Regions from separate parts of the Homo sapiens genome. Here all the other regions are linked to region 2. Evidence: promoter capture Hi-C in 16 types of primary human blood cells and fetal thymus (Javierre and others, 2016). All regions are on one chromosome and are shown on one strand. The core of a region is centred on a gene start or on the middle of the fragment in contact, and the rest is flanking DNA. Distances in the headings are between cores, read along the strand shown. Region 1 has its middle 45 kb from the start of MIR4444-1. Region 2 holds the start of LNPK (lunapark, ER junction formation factor). Region 3 overlaps LOC105373760 (a long non-coding RNA gene).

Region 1 (3,591 bases), core at 442-2,941, 1.2 Mb before region 2:
CTATAGGTGCAGCCATGGGACCAAGTTCTGGCCAAAGGTTTCCAAGTGGAAGAGAGCTTCTGGGAGCCTTCCTTGACGTGCAGCACACCCTTTGCCTCTCCATGCCTTCCTGCTTCCTGCTGCTTAAAGCTTGAGTGCTGTAACCATGAAGCATGAGCATGCCAAGCACAGCTGAACAGCAAGACAGAGGACCTTGGGTCCCTCAAACCATGAATCACTGTATCAGTCCTAGCCCCACCACTCAGACTTTTGTGTGAGAAAGAAATTTAACCCGTGACTCAAAACAACAAGTTTATTCTATTTTTTTTTTTGAGATGGAGTCTCACTCTGCTGCCCAGGCTGGAGTGCAGTAGTGTGATCTCAGCTCACTGCAACCTCCTCCAAGTGATTCTCCTGCCTCAGCCTCCTGAGTAGCTGGGATTACAGGCACGCGCCACCACACCTGGCTAATTTTTGTATATTTAGTAGAGATGGGGTTTCATCATGTTGGTTAGGCCGGTCTCGAACTCCTGACCTTGTGATCTGCCTGCCTTGGACTCCCAAAGTGCTGGGATTACAGGCGTGAGCCACCATGCCCAGCGCAAGTTTATTCTTGATCACACCACATGTCCATTGCTGGTCAGCAGGGGGACTCTGCTCATTGTGGGTACTCAGAAAGCCAGGCTGACAGTGTCCATGTCAACCAATGCTTCCACCATTGCTGACAAAGACAAAAGGAATGTAGTGAATTGTATACTGATAAGGCTTGGAACTGAAAATAACACATGCCATTTTGCTGACTAATGCAAGTCACATACCATATCTAACTTCAAAAAGGTAGGCAAGTAGTCTATTTGCCCTAAAAGCAGGAGAACCAGAATGTGTGGATAATCCCAATAATGACTATAATTTCTATCTTACCTAAGCCACTGTTATTTTGGGTTTTCAGCCAATTGCATCTGCACTGAATCCTAATTAAGAGAGGAATGATCACATCAATGCTGTGATAACTATGTCCTGTGAGGAAGGCTGTCACTGGGTGTACACCTTATACTCGGAAGGATTTGCAGGGGTCACTCCCTGTGGCTTTTCTGAGAAAGAAGAAGCCACATCTTTCTTAAGATCCTCAGTCATCCTTCAGTCATTGACATCTACTACACTGCAGGCAAATCACTAAGAATTCCTATTCCTAAAGTTCAGGCTACCACCTCTAGCTCCTTCTAAGTCTACGAAATATTCCCTATTCTTTTGAAAACACAACTCTAGTCTTTTTCTATTCTGCTTTGTTCCGGCATTCAAATCTTAGTCCTTGAGATCTGTCATCTTTCCCAGAGGCTCTAAATATGTCCTTACCTCCTTCAATTTGGCAAATATCTTCACTCGACCCTATGACATTTTCCAAATCTATAGACAAATGAGTCGTTCTATACCTATTGTCTTTTTGTTTTCCTTTTCTGAAACCCCTGTGATGAGGCTTCTGTTTGTACCATTCTACTTAAACTGTCTAAAAAGCCATTAATGGCTTTTATCAAGAAGCGTTTGTCTAAAACTCTGGAATTTCCTGGAAACATGCTTTCGTATATTTCATATAGTGGGATGGATAACAGCAGATAAAAACAGTCATAGGTTTAGTAAAACATAGTAGAGCCCTTTCTGCATTTGGGTAGTATGGGAATGCCTTCTGATCTGCTACAGGTAAAATCATATGTCTGTCTGCTCCTGCCCTAAAACACAGGAGCCATCTGCAGTACAAGGCTGACATATTTATTTATTTTGCAACACACACATTCGATCTTTTTTTTTTTTTTTTTTTTTTTTGAGACGGAGTCTCGCTCTGTGGCCCAGGCTGGAGTGCAGTGGCGCCATCTCGGCTCACTGCAAGCTCCGCCTCCCGGGTTCACGCCGTTCTCCTGCCTCAGCCTCCGGAGTAGCTGGGACTACAGGCGCCCGCCACCACGCCGGGCTAATTTTTTTGTATTTTTAGTAGAGACGGGGTTTCACTGTGTTAGCCAGGATGGTCTCGATCTCCTGACCTCGTGATCCGCCCGCCTGTGCCTCCCAAAGTGCTGGGATTACAGGCATGAGCCACTGCGCCCGGCCACATTCGATCTTTAATCCAGTGTTTTAGTGGGTGTAGGTGTGACTTAGAAGCAGGCACAGTTCATTAAAAAACAAAAAACACCAAAACCTTTTACAGGTTATTCTCACAGATAAAAATTCTATAGGCTACCAACAGAGGAAGTCTTTATTGTTCCTGGGCGCTAGACCATACACAGAAGGACCATACTTGCTCTTTGCAGTCTCATTCAGAAGCAGGAAAAAGGGGCTGTATTGGATTTGAATATGAAGGACAAAAGAAGCTCTGGAAACACCAAGTAATAGTCTATGTTACAGGTTTAACACACCCATTTAATCTCATTGGAAAAAATAATGAAACTGGTGAAAAGCATTTATGGAACTGGAGGAGAGCATATTTTGCTGGTTTTACTTTTATGTTTGAAGTTTTGGGTATAGCTATGCCCATAAATACTGAAATGCCTAGCATAAAGAACGCAGCCTGGGGCATACCCCATAAAACGTACAGTGCAATTAAATGAGCAATTTCCACTGGAAATAAAACGGGCATGTTGAGTGGAATATGAATTAAACTGCATATGACTCAGGCCTGCACTAGGCTTTAGAGAGAGATCTGCTGGTTTCAGTAGCACCTGATGCCGTCCATCTAAAGGTCAAGGCCAGTAAGTAACAAAAGAAAACTGTAGTTAGCATGAAGATTAGGGCATACCAAATTGTGGTTAATGTAGTTTCCCTGTCATGATGTCTCCTGAAAGGGACCAGCAAAATTACGACTGATAACAAAGGATTAAACCTGACCTTTCTTTACAATGCAGACACATTGAGCTTCTGCGTCATTTGCTATGCAGCATTTTTGACTTCCTCAAACTTCATTTTCACTTTCTGAATGTTCTCTCCCAGACCAAAGTCACCCAGGTGCCATAATAAAAGAATTTCTAAGGGAGATTTCAACTAGAAAACCAAAAGGCCATCAAAACAAACATTGATTTGCATTCCAGATCACTTTCTGCTCTTGTTCATTTCTGGGATCTTATTTGGAGATTAAAGGGTAATGATTCACTGATATCCTGTGGGAAAACCAGTTCAGGAGCAGCCTTTGACAAACCACATGTAGAAATCTGGCTGATACAGGGAGAAAACAAGTTTCAATCTTATTTTTAGTGTAGGGTAAAGGAAGTCCACCCAAGATAAAGCTTAGCATTCTTTCTTTGAGGAATTAGGGTAAGGGTGAAGAAAAGAAAGCTTGATATTTTTCTGCCTATGAAAGCCAGAAGAAGGCTCAGAGAAGCCCGTTCCTTCTTTTCCTCTTTTTCCAAGTGCCAGACCTCCGCAGCTCCCAGAGGAAATGAGGGCATGGGGTGGGTAATAGGGCATGTGATTTGAATGAGTATTCCCAGCCATTTAATATATTCACAAGTCAAACTATAAAGTATTTCTTTAAAAAAATTATAGTATTTCACTGAAGTTTGAATGTACTTTCTCTTGCCAAAATAATCAGAGTCTTTCATTTTTCTAATGATAAAAATGTGCTACATG
Region 2 (3,293 bases), core at 757-3,256:
TGTATTTTTTTTAAGGTTTCTCTCACTAGTGTCAGCGGCTTTAGGACAGCTGGTTTATTTATCTCTGTATCCTCAGCACGTAACACAGGGCCTTGTCAATAAATATTTGGAACCACCCTGTAGCCTGAAGTCCAGCCACAATAGTGTGTATGTTGATTTCTCTGCTTGTAATGTCTTTCCCTCACTTTATTTGCTCGATGAACAACTATTCTTGATATGAAGGAGGCAGTGGCTTAGTGTTACCTTCAACAGTGTACATAATCTTTCTACATTTCAGTTTCCTCATTTGAAAAATGATACTAAAAAGGTTGTTGGGAGGATTAAAAGAGTTAATGATTAAATACTTCTCTCCCTTCTCTTTCCAGGTCAAATCTCTACTCTCGGTAGAGCAATTCCCTAGGGAATTTTATCTCAGGATTAGGTTTTTGGAATCTCGTGTATCCAGACAGCTCTTCTCTGTCCCCTTGCTACCCTTTTTTCAGAGGTGGGGTATCGCTTGGTAGCCCAGGCTGGAGTACAGACACTGATGGCTCAATTGAAACCAGAGGACACATTACTGGCAAGTGGAAAGCCGTTCTTCCCAGTCTTCTTAGGAAAGGAGATCTTTCTGCGGTGAGATATATTTGCAAAACTGCACAGGACTTTAATACTTTGCAACAGCAAAGGTTGAAAAACAAAACGGTTAAATTTCCACATCAAAACAGGTGAAATGTTTCTGTTCATTTTCTTCTACATTTGGAAAGTGCCTGATCCACAGTGACACGCTAAACTTCAGTTCCCTTCCCCTCATCCTTGCAAGTGTACAGAACTGTAACTAAATATTTAGGCAATTAGGGCAAGCAAATTGCACAGTGAATTATGCGGTAGCTTCTAGTATAATAAATTTTCTTACCAACCAAACAATGCTCAGTTGCTTCTCTTGACAACCTGTTTGCATCGTCAAAGTTTAAATGTAACATATTAAAACTATTACTCTTTAAAAAATCATTGAAACTTTTTTGTGTATAAATAAAAAAATAGAATAAAAATAAATAAAAAATAGAAAAAAACCCATGAAAAATGTTTGCACATGGGGTAAAGCATGTAAAAGGGGTAAAGCATGATAAAAACCTTCGCTGAAGTTTCCCTGCTCACACATTACTGTGTGCACGTCTAGTCTTTTTCTCATTCAGGCATCATTTGTTATTTGTCTTTTCCAGTTGAGGAGGACACTTAATACCGTTTCGGCAGCGTTTCAAATCCGAGTCAAATATAGCCTGAGTGGTTTTTTTGTGGGTCCACCTATCAGGGCCTGTGAAGAGTGTTCTTGGGGTTAAGAGTTCTAAGATAGAAAACTCAGCTTATGCTGTTACCCGCAGGTTTTAAAGCAACATGATACGGCGTTTGAAGCTTACCTCACACCGGTGAGGTAAGCGTCCAGTCATCAAATGACCCTTTTTGACGTCCAAGAGTGACAGAGCCTCAAGCACTCCTGGGGACCGGGCTGACTTTTCTCCACTGGCTTGGTTGGGAACTGGCTTCTTCGGAGCTGTGTAGTCTTAATTTGCTTTGCTGCTGGCTGGCTGACAGCTGATGGGGGACTCCTCAGGACGGACTCCCTTCCAGATGCACCCATCTCCATCCTTCTCAACTCCCCAACCTTTGTCCTCCCCACTCTTCGCTCGCGCGGCGGTCTGAGACCACCAGGACCAGTTTCAGGGGTTTCCTTCTCCAGCGAGACTTGGCAGAACAGGCTTTAAAAGCAAAGGAGGCAGCGGAAGAGTAAGAAATAACTATATTCTAAGAGTCATAATAAATGGCAGTACATAACTGCGACACGACACCGAGCAGCCTAAGCTGGCTGCGGAGGCCACAAACACAAGATCCTAACCTCCCGGCCGACCCGCCCCAACAACTACCCGCCCAGGGTACGGTCACGTGACGGGGGAGCGGCGCGCGCCGACCGCGGCGCCAATTGGCGAGCGGCTGGAGCGCGGGGTTTCATGGGAAGGAGTTGGCCCGGCTTGTCTCTCTGTCAGTGGCGGCTGCTGCCTGCTCTGGAGGCAGGCTGGGCGGTGGCGGCCGAGACTGGCGGGGGTGGACGCCCGGGCCGGGCTGCGCCCGCTTCTTGCAGGTAGAACGCTCAAGGCGAGGGCAGTTGGGAGGGCTCTGCAGCGGGGAGGCATGCTGAGCTGTGCCCCTGGGAAATAAGCTGCGGGTTCCCCGCTTGCCTCTCCTTGGTGCCCCCGCCTCCTGCCAAGTGGCCTAGAGCTCTGCGGCGGCTGCTAGTCAGGCTGCGCGGTGGTCCGCGCAGACCCAGGCTCGCCGCCTTGTTCCCTGGATTTCCCAGCACACTGGCAGTGGTGGCGCTGGAGTCTTGAAACCCTTGTTTCCCCTCTAGGGCTGGTAGTTTCTCCAGCTCGGTTCTAGGAGATTCCGGGTGGTGACTGGCTTGAGCCCCAGCTCTTTGGCCCACTTGTGTCGAGCTTATCTCGACACAGGTGGGGCAAAGAGGTCAGAAGGTCCCAAACTAGCATTTCCTACGCTCAGCTGTCCGCTTTGAGCGTTCTCTCCGCTTCTCTTTCTGAGTTGTGCGGAGGCTCCAAGAGTTAGAAAGACCAGAAGGGACTGAAAACTGTCAGTGTCATGCTGCCGGGCTCTAGCGTGTGGGCGTGGAGTACGTGCTACTTAGAGAAGAGACTCTCCAACCATTGTCCTTATTTCAGGGATGGTGGGCTGTGGGGTGGAGGGGAAGGGCGAAGGTGCATTGTATCAGAGGCGTGGTAGGAGGAGAAAAACAAATCTAAATTCCGTCAGTTCATAGTTTACGGATTGAGAAAGAGTTGAAATTGGTCAACTCAGCTTTGCTGATGGTGCTTTCACAGTACTAAGCAAGACCCGTGAATCACTGAGTTTTCCGTGTTCTGCTTTTCCCAGTTGGCCTCCGGTGTGTGTTGCTCGGTGTCTACTGTTTCCTCCTTTCTTTATGGCCTGGGTGTCAGCATTGACAAAATTGACTCTATTCAACAGCGGTTTGGTGGGTGTGAGTAAGCTTGGTTTCAGGAATATGTTCAAACTGGCAGGGAATGCTCATTTCTTTTCCTCAGCAGCCCCCAGAAGACCAAGTTGACTTTTAACACATTTTCTTAAACAGGAGTGGTGCGTTTAAATTAGAATTTTAAGGTTGTCTGTTATCTATTGAGATCAGCTCAGTAATGATGTTAGTAAACTTATATAGTGTTTATATGTTATATAAACAAGAAAATACAAGAAAAGGAGAAGTTATATGGCTATTAAAAATATATGACTTCACA
Region 3 (3,759 bases), core at 131-2,630, 1.1 Mb before region 2:
CTCCTGGGACTGGTCCAGGCCAAGCCTCATTATGGAACGGTTCCTCTTGCTGAACTAGTCTAAGCCTGATTCTTACTGGGATACTTTTTTAGAGTTATTTGCAACAAAGAATTTAACCCTTGAGAAGCTACAGAATTGACTTTCAATATTATACATATTAGGCCATTTGAGGGGATCAGGAAGACATTAAAATCAGAGTGTGTTTTTTCCTTGTGGGTGCTTCCTGGGACTTTGAAGTTAGGCAATTGTATTTGTGTATACTGCAGGGATTTTAGTTTTGTAATCATATACCAGAATTGAAGTGTTCATTTAAGACATTTTTTACCCTTCCCTAATCTGCATCACAACAAGCATATTACTGACCCTGTCTTTTTCATTTATATATAAGTGGTGAATTTACCTCTTTGCCTGGGTGCCCAAATAGTTGTTCAGATCATACAGCAAGTTTCACTGACTTTCTTTGCTTAATGTCTAACTGAATCATTTGGTTACTTGGTGTTTTTGTGCATACATAGACCCCAAGATTGTAACTGTTAAACAGCTACAAAAGTAGTTCAGCATCATTCATCAGTTATATTTCCTTTACTGTGTGTGTGTGTGTGTGTGTGTGTGTGCGTGCGTGTGTGTATAATATCTTTGCAAAATATTATTGGCGAATAGATTTTTTAAATGTCAATTTTTGTGTTGACTTTTTGCCTTTTGTGTAGCAGTTAGTTCATAAAGATTAGGCCATTTTCCACTGGAGAATCTCTTGCATTTTAAGGTTCTTTGCTCATTGTGGGCATCTTACCAAATTTTTTCACTGAAGTAGTTTTCCTCATTCAAAATGCCACATTTTCTATTAGAATGTTACTAATCTGGCTCAATATATTTTCCCTTTGTGGCTGGTAAGGAATATTTATTTGATGCTAGTGAGGCGGCCCAATCTACCAGCCAGGTCTTTCACAGAGAACAAGATGGTGGTCAACTTGAGGATGGGTAAGTGTCTTTGTGATGGAAAGCAATAATTTAGTCTTTAGTAGGCTGCTTGCTCTACATGCTAACAAACCGACACCTTTCCTCACTCCCCTTCTCCCAGACAGATTTCTGTTGGATTAGTAGTAGGTTGACTTGTTCCGTCTCACATAGATATACTTCCAGAAGGTGTCGCGGTGATGCTGTGAGACTTAACTTGTCAACCTAAACTCTTTTTATCTGAAATGCAATAACAATTGCCAAGTTTTCCTAATATAAAAATAGTCTAAATCAATTATCCAGGCTATTGTTAAGCCACACTAAATTATGGGATTAATAAGCAAACATTCAGGTAGTTCAGTGGCATTTGATAAGGAAATTTAATTTACTCACATAAGATTACACTTAGAAAATTATTGGCCAGGCGTGGTGGCTCACTCCTGTAATCCCAGAACTTTGGGAGGCTGAGGCGGGGGATCACCTGAGGTCGGGAGTTGGAGACCAGCTTGACCAATATGGAGAAACCCTGTCTCTACTAAATATACAAAATTAGCCAGGCGTGGTGGTGCATGCCTGTAATCACAGCTACTCGGGAGGCTGAGGTAGGAGAATCGCTTGAACCCAGGAGGCAGAGGTTGCAGTGAGCTGAGATCACGCCATTGCTCTCCCAGCCTGGGCAACAAGAGCGAAACTCCAGCTAAAAAAAAAAAAAAAGAAAATTATCCATATAGGTCCCATTGTTTTCAATAAAGTAAAGGTAGGTTTTTAAAGAAAAACTTTGTAAAAACATACTCTGGCCAGTGAATTTAATTTCTCTGTAAAATAATAGCTTTTTTTTTTTTAAAAAGAGTCTTGCTCTGTCACCTAGACTGGAGTGCAGGGGCAGGATCTTGGCTCACCACAATCTCCTCCTCCCAGGTTCAAGTGATTCTCCTGCCTCAGCCTCCTGAGTAGCTGGGATTACAGGTGCGTGCCACCACATCTGGCTAATTTTCGTATTTTTAGTAGAGACGGGTTTCACCATGACGGTCAGGCTGGTCTCGAACTCCTGATGTCATGATCCACCCTCCTTGACCTCCCAAAGTGCTGGGATTACAGGGCGTGACACCGCGCCCGACCTAAAATAATAGTTTTAAGAGAAACTGCTGCCTTGTGAAATTGAATTCTCAGTCTATAATGTGGCGTATGCTTCTGTTTTAAATTCATTATAAAAGGTATTTAAACTTCATAGATTTCTTCCCCCTGTGTATTTTTGTCAGCCTAGACGCACAAAGAAAGAAGAATGCTCTATACCTTGTGGACATTTAATAAAGATTAATTTTTTTAAACTAACAATTTAAGTATAATCTCCAAATGGAAGCATATCTATGTTAGTTTAAATCCTTTCACAATAAATAACAGAATACAGGAAACTTTTAGGAAGGTTTATGATTTTCCATAAGAAAAATGTGCTTAGAGCTTAGAGGGGAACATTTTACAATTTTTTTAAAAAAATCTACATCTTCCTTCTGCAGATATCAATACAATCAATTGACAGTAAATGAAAAAGCCGAAAAAAAAGAATGCCCCCTCTCCAGTCTTCCTTTTTTTTTTTTTTAATTTCAGTTGGAAAATCCCCACTGAATGAATTTTTTTGAAAAAGTAAATGTATCCTGGGAACATGCCGTTCAGGATTTTGGAAAAGGAACTTCAAACGAAATTGGTAAGGGAGGCAAATGCGTAAGTGGAAACTTTGAGGAAACTGGCAATGAGAGACTGGAAATCAGGCAGTCATTTACGTTTTACTTCACCACCCTTTGCTTATGTGAGTACAAAGCAGGGAGCTGGCAAGGCTGTGAGTCAGAACTCTCCTCTCAGGAACTGAGCAGAGAGATTCCCAGCATCTGTTTCCTCAACTATCACCCAGAGGATACTGGTGGTAAATCACAGGGAATAAAAATAGCCTCAGAAGTCTAGTTCCAGACAAATAAGGCATGCTGGATATTCGATAGTGGTTTGGGGTCTCAAAATTCTTCATTAGCTAAATAACAAATATATTATTTTTTACATTAATGAGCATATTCCTTACATTGTTCACCTAAATGTTGAGCACAACCTTGGCATTTCTACTGACGTGAGTTGAAGTATTACCTAAATTACATTATGTTTGATGTTACAGTCTGAACCATTTAGTGTATAAAGGTGGGTCTACAATCAATAATCACAAATGTTAAAGCTTTATTTTAGATACAATAAAACATTTATTTCTAAGATGTTAAAAAAAAACCCATAAGCTTCTTACCATAATGTCAATTGCCAATAGATTGATAAGATCTTTCTGCATTTTGACTGCAGGAAATTTTATGGCTAGAATCTTACAATTTACACAACTTACAGTCTTTTTAGGTTATATTTCACATATAAGAAAGTATTTTTTAGGTCTGCCTAGAAATGTTGTAATTTGATATTAAGTTATAGCTTAGATTTTCAACAAAAACAGCAGCTGTAATAGATGAGATTAGCAAGTGGTGAAAAGTTCAAAGCATTTAATGGAATTGATCTACTAAATTAGCATTGACAATTTTTAGTGGCTATCTTAAATATACATTATTATCATGAAAGAATTAGTCCAATTAAGCCTTTACATTTGGAAGATGCCCAGTCTGACCTTGTTCTACTCAATGTGAAAAGTGAGAGGGTCTTTGGGTTTATTTAAATTTGGTGTTAAATCAATTGGTTTGGGGGACCTTTTACTCCTTTTTGGAATGGAAGAAAAACTCAAAGGCTATTTATAGTGACAAATGGGTTATTAGAACAGTTAATATA

The links. Contacts are between HindIII fragments. The CHiCAGO score rates a contact against its expected background, and 5 or more counts as called.
Region 1: a fragment that was not itself captured here is called in contact with the fragment with the promoter of LNPK in region 2 in 5 of 17 cell types (total CD8 T cells, non-activated CD4 T cells, naive CD8 T cells and 2 more); the score reaches 7.7 in total CD8 T cells.
Region 3: a fragment that was not itself captured here is called in contact with the fragment with the promoter of LNPK in region 2 in 7 of 17 cell types (total CD8 T cells, total CD4 T cells, fetal thymus and 4 more); the score reaches 9.6 in total CD8 T cells.

Annotation. Positions count from the first base shown.
Region 1 is chr2:177,165,602-177,169,192 of GRCh38, reverse strand. No RefSeq gene overlaps it. Among named protein-coding and RNA genes, the nearest start is that of MIR4444-1, 45 kb to the left of the region's middle. RefSeq lists enhancers at 578-872, 1,874-2,392. The HindIII fragment of the contact is 3,119 bases long and covers 132-3,250 here.
Region 2 is chr2:176,000,980-176,004,272 of GRCh38, reverse strand. It overlaps LNPK (lunapark, ER junction formation factor), which reads left to right and starts at 2,006. Exons shown (of 13, transcript NM_030650.3): 1 at 2,006-2,113. RefSeq lists an enhancer at 1,593-1,812. The HindIII fragment of the contact is 1,642 bases long and covers 1,392-3,033 here.
Region 3 is chr2:177,142,637-177,146,395 of GRCh38, reverse strand. All of the region lies in intron 1 of LOC105373760 (a long non-coding RNA gene), which reads left to right. Among named protein-coding and RNA genes, the nearest start is that of MIR4444-1, 68 kb to the left of the region's middle. The HindIII fragment of the contact is 3,583 bases long and covers 1-3,171 here.